2 separate regions of the Homo sapiens genome follow, and region 1 is linked to region 2. The links are contacts of gene promoters, found by promoter capture Hi-C in human tissues and cell types (Jung and others, 2019). All regions are on one chromosome and are shown on one strand. Each heading gives the region's core, a stretch centred on a gene start or on the middle of the fragment in contact. The rest is flanking DNA. Distances are from core to core; before and after follow the strand shown. Region 1 overlaps FXR2 (FMR1 autosomal homolog 2). Region 2 holds the start of ATP1B2 (ATPase Na+/K+ transporting subunit beta 2).

The links. The method cuts DNA at HindIII sites, captures the fragments that hold promoters and counts their contacts. A contact is called where the count stands out against the background at its distance.
Region 1: a contact is called between a fragment that was not itself captured here and the fragment with the promoter of ATP1B2 in region 2, in 1 of the 25 tissues and cell types used here (adrenal gland).

Annotation. Positions count from the first base shown.
Region 1 is chr17:7,595,776-7,600,085 of GRCh38, reverse strand. It overlaps FXR2 (FMR1 autosomal homolog 2), which reads left to right. Exons shown (of 17, transcript NM_004860.4): 8 at 4,092-4,262. Among named protein-coding and RNA genes, the nearest start is that of SOX15, 7.8 kb to the right of the region's middle. The HindIII fragment of the contact is 6,198 bases long and covers 1-4,310 here.
Region 2 is chr17:7,648,965-7,653,439 of GRCh38, reverse strand. ATP1B2 (ATPase Na+/K+ transporting subunit beta 2) reads right to left here and starts at 2,514. Exons shown (of 7, transcript NM_001678.5): 1 at 1,810-2,514; 2 at 1-66. The coding sequence starts at 1,921. RefSeq lists enhancers at 1,944-2,586, 2,861-3,361, 3,362-3,862 and a silencer at 2,455-2,604. The HindIII fragment of the contact is 20,754 bases long and covers 1-4,475 here.

The sequences.
Region 1 (4,310 bases), core at 1,053-3,552, 53 kb after region 2:
TCTCTACTAAAACTACAAAAATTAGCCAGGCGTGGTGGCAGGCGCCTGTTGTCCCAGCTACTCGGGAGGCTGAGGCAGGAGAATCGCTTGAACCTGGGAGGCGGAGGTTGCAGTGAGCCGAGATCACACCATTGTACTCCAGCCTGGGCAACAAGAGTGAAACTCCATCTCAAAGAAAAAAAGGATATTTCTTGTTTTTTTGTTTGTTTTTTGAGATAGCGTCTCTGTCGCCCAGGCTAGAGCGCAGTGGCGCTATCTTGGCTTACTGCAACCTCCACCTCCCAGATTGAAGCGATTCTCCTGCCTCAGCCTCCCAAGTAGCTGGGATTACAGGTGTGTGCCATCACACCTGGCTAATTTTTGTCTTTTTTAGTAGAGATGGGGTTTCACCATGTTGGCCAGGCTGATCTCAAACTATGGACCTCAGGTGATCCGCCCACCTCGACCTCCCAAAATGTTGGGATTACAGGTGTCAGCCACCACGCCTGGCCTGACTAGAGTATTTCTGTGAGATCTTTTTGAATTCTGACATCGTATAATTGTCAGATTCCCTTTCGTTGGTATTATACTATTCTAAGTGAATAGGGTGTGTGTGTTTGAATACCATTTCCATTTATCAAGGGAATTGATCTTTTTGGGAGGCTTTTTTCTGTGCCTGTGCAATTTCTGGGTCATGATAATCTTTGACTTCTTCAGGGATCCTGCTCAGGGCACTGGCAGGTAAAAATTCACCATTACCTTCAGATGATACAAACTTTATTTTTTGTTTTTGTTTTTTGTTTTGAGATGGAGTCTCAGTCTGTTATCCAGGCTGGAGTGTATGTAGTGGTGCGATCTCAGCTCACTGCAGTCTCTACCCCCCGAGCTCAAGTGATCCTCTCACCTCAGCCTTTGGGTGGGTGGGATTACAGGTGCATGCCACCATACCTGGCTATTTTTTTTTTTTTTTTGGAGACAGTTTCCCTCTGTCACCCAGGCTGGAGTGCAATGGCACAATCTCCGCTCCCTGCAACCTCTCGCTCCTGGGTTCAAGCGATTCTTGTGCCTCGGCCTCCCAGGTAGCTGGGATAATAGGCACGCGCCCCCACGTCTGGATAATTTTTGCTTTTTTAGTGTTTCACCATGTTGCCCAGGCTGGTTTTGAACTCCCGACCGCAGGTGATCCACCTGCCTTGGCCTCCCAAAGTACTGGGATTACAGGCATGAGCCACTATACCTGGCCCTAATTTCAGTATTTTTAGTAGAGACGGAGTTTCACCATGTTGGCTAGGCTGGTCGCGAACCCCTGGCCTCAAGGGATCCACTTGCCTTGGCCTCCCAAAGTGCTGGGATTATAGACATGACCCATTGCACCCGGCCTAATTTTTGTTGTTGTTTTTTAATTTTTTGAGACGGAGTCTCATTCTGTCGTCCAGGCTGGAGTGCAGTAGTGCGATCTCAGCTCACTGCAGCTTGTGTAGTTAGCGCAGAGTGAGCAAAGGGAGACCGATACAAAATTCGGTCAGAGAGTAGATCATGTAAGACATGTACGGTAGGCTGAGGAGGGGGGATTTTATTGTGCGTATACTGAGAAGCCATTGAGTTAACAGTGCCTTCTGGTTTTTTGTTTTGTTTTGTTTTGTTTTGTTTTTGAGACGGAGTCTCGCTCTGTCACCCAGGCTGGAGTGCATTGGCGTGATCTCGGCTCACTGCAAGCTCCACCTCCCAAGTTCACGCCATTCTCCTGCCTCAGCCTCACGAGAAGCTGGGACTACAGGCGCCTGCCACCACGCCCGGCTGATTTTTTTGTATTTTTTTTTAGTAGAGATGGGGTTTCACCGTGTTAGCCAGGATGGTCTTGATCTCCTGACCTCGTGATCCACCCACCTCGGCCTCCCAAAGTGCTGGGATTACAGGCGAGAGCCACTGTGCCCGGCCGAAAGTGCCTTCTGTTTTAAACTCCTGTTTCAATGACAGATGGAAAGGGGGGCAAGAATGGAAGCAGGAACAGAGCACAGTAGTCCAGGTGAGAAACTTGAACTGGAGTGCTAAAGGAAGAGAGAGAGAGTAGTTTTATGTAGGATAAATTTTACGAGTAAAACCAGTAGGACTGACAGGCTCTGTGATACTGAGAGATACATATTTGGTCTCCTGACCAGGCTCCTGGCATTCAACTTCTAAAATCCTTGGAATCTCCAGTGATGTGTGTTTTTGTGTGCTGATGAGTTGATTCATGGCTAGCCCCTCTAGGTGGCTTCATGATTAGAGGGTTGGAACTTTCAGCCTCACCCCCACCAACTTCCTGGGAGGGGAATGGGGCCAAAGGTTAAGGCAATCACTGAGGATCAGTGATTTAATCAGTCATGCCTAGTAGTGAAGCCTCTAAAAACCGGAAAGGGGCCGGGTGCAGCGGCTCACGCCTGCAATCCCAGCACTTTGGGAAGCCGAGGCAGGTGGATTGCCTGAGGTTAGGAGTTTGAGACCAGTCTGGCCAGCATGGTGAAACCCCTTCTCTACTAAAAATACAAAAAAAGGGAGGCAGAAGTTGCAGTGAGCAGAGATCATGCCACTGCACTCTAGCCTGGGTGACAGACCCCATCTCAAAAAAAAGAAAAAAAAAAAAGAAAACCCAGCTGTTCTGCAAGCTTATCTAGAAGACGCTTATAGGTCATTGTAGATCTCTTCCCCTCCCCTCCTAATGTAGTGATTTTGAACACTCAACTTAGTTTATTTTTCCAACTTTCTCTTCTTGCCTGGTATAAATCCTTGGTATAATTCAGTCCTATCCAACTTGGAAGTGGGAAGTAGTGTATTTCAATCTAGGAATGTCTCCTTTCAGGTATTGTTTCTATTTGGTGCTTACAACATGGGATTCACTCCTCTAAAACCTTTCCTGTCTTCCTGCCCCTGAACCCAGGGGTTCCTCTAAGGACTGATTGAGAAATGAAGTGAAAGCCTGGTGTTCTAGAGGCATGTTTTCTGTTTTTCTTAACCCCTCACTTTTTTTTGAGACAGAGTTTTGCTCTGTCACCAGGCTGGAGTGCAGTGGCATGACCTCGGCTCACTGTAACCTCCAACTCCCTGGTTCAAGCAATTCTCCTGCCTCAGCCTCCCAAGCAGCTGGGATTATAGGCACACCCCACCAAGGCCAGCTAATTTTTGTATTTTTAATAGAGATGGGGTTTCACTATGTTGGCAGGATGGTCTTGATCTCCTGACCTTGTGATCCACCTGCCTCAGCCTCCCACAGTGCTGGAATTACAGGCGTGAGCCACCGCGCACAGCCTACCCCTCACTTTTTACTTAAGTTGTTGAGTTTTATTTGGGGATGAGTTGATATTTGTTTGATTAAGGTAAGAGTTCCTTACACTTGCATGTACCTTGTGAGAAGTACTTTCACACCAGCCTTGTCTAATCCTCTTGCTAGTCTTGAGAATAAGATAAGTTGGATATAATCACTTAGCAGATGACACAAGAGGCAGAGTATGTTTTGTTTAAGATCACACAGATAGATACTCTTAGGGACAGATACTGTTAGGGCCAAATCCAGAACTTCGGTGTGTCCCAGTCCAAACTCTGCCCTCTTTACCTTTCCTCCCCCACAAACCACTGGTATTTGGAAGGAGTGGAATTAAAAGTTCCTGACCTTGGCCGGGCGTGGTGGCTTATGCCGGTAATCCCAGCACTTTGGGAGGCTGAGGCGGGCGGATCACCTGAGGTCAGGAGTTTGAGACCAGCCTGGCCAACATGGTGAAACCTTGTCTCTACTAAAAATACAGAAATTAGCCAGGCATGGTGGTGGACACCTGTAGTCGTAGCTACTCAGGAGGCCGAGGCATGAGAATCACTTGAAGTCGAGAGGCGGAGGTTGCAGTGAGCTGAGATCGCGCCACTGCACTCCAGCCTGGGCGACAGAGCGAGACGCCATCTCAAAGAAAAAACAAAAAGTTCCTGACCTTTCCACACAGGTCCTCGTGGTCCGCGGACTCCAGAGTGGTTCTAGCTTTCTATTAATATCACACAGTTTTCCTTATTTAAGTTATGCAAAGGGTCGTGTGCCTGGGACTGTGAGATTCTACCACCATGATTCCTACAGTGACTTTTCCTTTCAGACAAGCAAGCAGTTGGCAGCAGCCTTCCAAGAGGAGTTCACAGTGCGAGAGGACCTGATGGGACTGGCAATTGGGACTCACGGTGCCAACATCCAGCAGGCCCGAAAAGTACCTGGGGTGACCGCCATTGAGTTGGGTGAAGAGACCTGCACTTTCCGCATCTATGGGGAGGTCAGCAAAGGATGTCTTTCTTCTGGGTCTCTTAGGGGATAGAGGGAA
Region 2 (4,475 bases), core at 1,265-3,764:
ACATGGTGAGGGTGAACATGGCGGTGAGGAACCCATAAAAAACGAGGTAGAAGAGGAGGATAAAGGCTAGGGAGGAGGAAACAGGGTCAGCAGGGCCCAAGGTTCCCACCATAACCTCAACTATCCCCACACACCCCTCTACCCACTCTGAAGTTCTGCACTGGGACTGATCACAGAGCCACAGGGATGTCTTAGAGCCTTCCTCTGGAGGCAAAATGAGACAAACTGGAAACAGGCAGTTGTGTCTGGCTTCTAGCCATGACTCCCAGCCCCCTCCTGGTCCTAGGGCACAGTGAAGCCCGACCTTGTGGAGGTCTGTTATTTTGCCTCCAATTACATTTCCAACTTCTCAACCATGCATAGTCCTGACAAGGCACACATCTGTTACCTCTGCATTCGTACTCATGCTTAAAGCTGTGCTAGCATGGTGCCTTTTAAAGCGGGTACTGGCCACCATTCACAAGCAAACCCTCATACCACCCCGCAGAGACTGGACCCTCAGATTTGAATAGCAACATCTCTCTCCTGGTGCCCTTCAGAAGCCAAACTTTGAACACAGTTCCTGAAATGAAAGACCTAACACTAGCCTAGCTACAAATCTCTCAGAGACGGCTTGTTAGAACCTTCAACAGTCACCCCACCCTCAGTTCACACCCAGCACCCTGGGCAGAGGCAGGGAGGAAAGGCAGAATCTCCCACAGCCTTCCCTTGGTGGGATCTCTCCATGGCTCCCCCGCCTGAAGTAAGGACCCAAGGGCCGGCTGTTCCCACCACCCTGGACTCCCAATCCTTCCATCTCAGAGGACACTTCTTCCATGAAGTCCTCTGGCTCTCCCAAGCATTGCTGGATTCTTCTCATCCCAGGGGCTGGAGTTTGAGTTCCCTGAGGGAATGGATTGCATGGGACCCACTTCGTGTAGGCCCCGAATGGGTGGACTGATGGGGACGGTGCCCAGTGTGGAAAGATTGTAAATCGTGTCACACAGTGTCCTCTGTCCCCTGTGTCTCAACGTCCCAGCTTGACCATCCCTCTTGGAAGAATTCCACCCCTCACCTGCACCTGTGCCGGTCACCAGACCCCCTCCACCCCCCCAACCCCCGACCACTACAGCTCCCTGAGTCCTGCCATGGTCAGCCTGGGGAGGCTTCCAAGTCATCCGACTGTCACAGACACCTGGCTGGCTGATGCACACAAATCACCACAGCGACCACTCCTCCCTCCGTCACCGACATGGGAGCAAAACCTGCAGCCTCGGTAAAACTCATACTATCAGCAGCCCCCCAACCCACAAAGCAGTCCCAGAAGGCTCCCAAGGCCAGGCGGTGGGATACAGACAACTTCCGCCGTGAAGAACCCCCCTAACACACCCCCCAAGACCCGCCCCCTCATGAACGTTCCCAGGGTCCAGGGGGTGGGCACGAGCTAAAAATAGACGGGGCTGCGGAGCTAGTGAGAGCCGGAGGGAGGGAAGGGGCGCTCTTTGGAGGTGGGGGACGCCCGTGTGGAGCGGACAGGCCCCGAGAGGGAGTGTGAGCGCCGGCGCGGACACGCAGGCGGAGCTGGCGACCCCCCGCCCGAGGGGGCTCCGCGGGGGGCGGGAAGGCGGCTGTGACCTACTTTCTCCGCCTCCGCACGGCCAGCCGGGGAGATTAGACTGGCGATTCGGCCCCCTCCCAGCCCAGAGCCCGGCAGGGAGGCTGGACGCCGGGGACCCGGGAGGGGAGCTGGGGCCGCGTCGGCGGGACCCTGCGCCCCCGAGGCGTCGCCCCGCGGCTTTCCCCCGCCCCTTGCGTGCCGGCCCTGCGTACCCCAGCTGGTCCCGGTGCGGCCCATAAACTGGTGCGTCCTCGGGTTCCACACGAACTCCTTCCACTCCTCAACCACCTGCCCGCAGCTCTTCTTCTCTTTCTGGATGACCATCTTGGTGGCGCGGGGCGAGTCCGGGCGCGGGGCGGGGGGTTGCGGAGAAGCGGGGGCGCCGCGCGCTGAAGCCCTCCACACACCCAAAAGCACGGGGAGCGAAGGCGGCGCGGGCAAAGGAGACCCCCCTCAGATATGCAGCTGCTGCAGATTCCGGGGTGCACGACCACGCGCTGCGGGGTGCTGGCAGCGCGGCGGAAGATGCACCGATCCTAGGCCCCCCAACTGCGATGAAAAGGGGTGCTGTCAGAGCAGGGGAGAATAACAAGAGGAAGGGGTATGAATGCAGCTTCACCCCCCACCAAACCGTCTAGAAACAAAACGAAATGGGGTGCAAAAACAGACGGCTACAAAAACCGAGCAGAACGCAGAAAAAAAGCGGGGTACAAAAAGGCAGAGAGAGGTGGGGGAGGGGGCCGCCCCGAAATCCAAGATGCAAAGAAGCTGTGGAACGAAGCTCAAGGCTCGCTCCGCCAAGCGGAGACCACTGCACCGGTGGTGGCTCAGCCGCGGGGGTGGGGCGGGGACGCGCAGCTGGGGGACAGCCAGGGATGGGGGGCCCCCCAGGCGGAGGCTCCGCTCCTCAGCAGTGCGAGGCCCGCGGTCGCCGAGCGCGGTCTTTATACTCTGCGGCTCTGGGGGTGCCCGCCCCCTTCCCACCCCCAGAAGCTCCGCCTCCTCGCCACTGGCCCAGGCGACCTCATACATATGTAAATATGGAGAGGTTGGGCCCGCCCCCCTGACTTCTCTTAGGGACCTAGCTGTCTCTCCATTACCCCCACCCCAGGTACTAGACTGGGACAGGGTGGGAGGAAGAGATAGAGGGCGTGTCCGGGCGGAGTAGAGGGAAAGATAACCCCAGAGAAACACAACGGCAGAGAGAGAAGCCGATATATGCTCAAAGGTGGGGGCCCCAGGCAGGGAGTTAGAAAGAGACTAAGATACAGATGCGGCGGAAGAGTCCGGGAGCAGATGGGGCAGAATGTCAGAGGAATAAAGAGCTAGAGATCAAGAAAGAGAGCGAAGAGACCAGCCGGGAGGCTGGCCGAGCCAGGAGGGAAGCTAGGACAGGCCCCGCAGAGATGGATAAAGGCCACCCCCAGAGGGACGTTCCCCTGTTGGGAGCCGCTACCAGTCCCCCAGACGCCTCCTTCTCCAATCTCACAGCCCCTGTCCACACCACCTGGCTCTGTCCACGTGCAGAGGCTTCCCCATCTTCCCATCACGTCTCCCTGAAGCCCTCTCAACACCACATTCCCAGTCCCCAGCACTGCCCTGAGATCCCAGCCCTGCAGCCAGGTCTACTTCGGTTCTCTGCCTCCTGGCACCCCCACCCCCACGTCGGAACTCACCTCCTTATGTGTCTACTTGGGTCAACAAACATTTATTGAGCACCTCTATAGACTGTGTGCTGTAGCCCTGGGGAGGCCAGAGAGGTTACACTGAAGCCACATCTCTCACGGGGCTCACAGTCTAGGGCGGGAGTACACTTGCTCTACATACCACATGTTAAGAATCATTATCTCAAGCCGGGCACGGTGGCTTATGCCTGTAATCCCAGCATTTTGGGAGGCCGAGGCGGGCAGATCACGAAGTCAGGAGTTCGAGACTAGCCTTGCCCACATGGTGAAACCCCGTCTCTACTTAAAAATGCAAAATTAGGCCAGGCGCGGTGGCTCACGCCAGTAATCCCAGCACTTTGGGAGGCCGAGGTGGGTGGATCACGAGGTCAGGAGATCGAGACCATCCTGGATAACACAGTGAAACCCCGTCCCTACTAAAAATACAAAAAAAAAAAATTAGCTGGGCGTCGTGGCGGGAGCTTGTAGTCCCAGCTACTTGGGAGGCTGAGGCAGGAGAATGGCATGAACCCGGGAGGCGGAGCTTGCAGTGAGCCGAGATCGCTCCACTGCACTCCAGCCTGGGCAACAGAGCTTCCGTCTCAATAAAAAAAAAAAAAAAAATTAGCTGGGCATGGTGGTGGGTGCCTGTAGTCCCAGCTACTCAGGAGGCTGAAGCAGGAGAATTGCTTGAACCCGGGAGGCGGAGCTTGCAGTGAGCTGAGATCACGCCATTGCACTCCAGCTTGGGCAATAGAGTGAGACTTCGTCTCAAAAAAAGAGAGAAAAAAAAAATCATTATCTCGGCCAGGCCCAGTGGCTCATGCCTGTAATCCCAGCTCTATAGGAGGCCGAGGCCAATGGATCACCTGAGCAAGGGAGTTCGAGACCAGAGGTCAGGAGTTCAAGACCAGCCTGGCCAACATGGTGAAACTGCGTCTCTACTAAAACTAAAAAAATTAGCCGGGTGCGGTGGTGGGAGCCTGTAATCCCAGCTACTCAGGAGGCTGAGGCAAGAGAATTGCTTGAACCTGGAAGGTGGAGGTTGCAGTGAGCCGAGATTGTGTCACTGCACTCCAGCCTGGACAAGAGCAAAACTCCATCTCAAAAAAATGGTATGCATTGAATGAATGAATGAATGAATGGGAGTTGGGGCTGGCCTCTGAAGGGTAGGTAGTCTTCCAGGACAAAGGAATGAAAGGCACAGAGGTGTG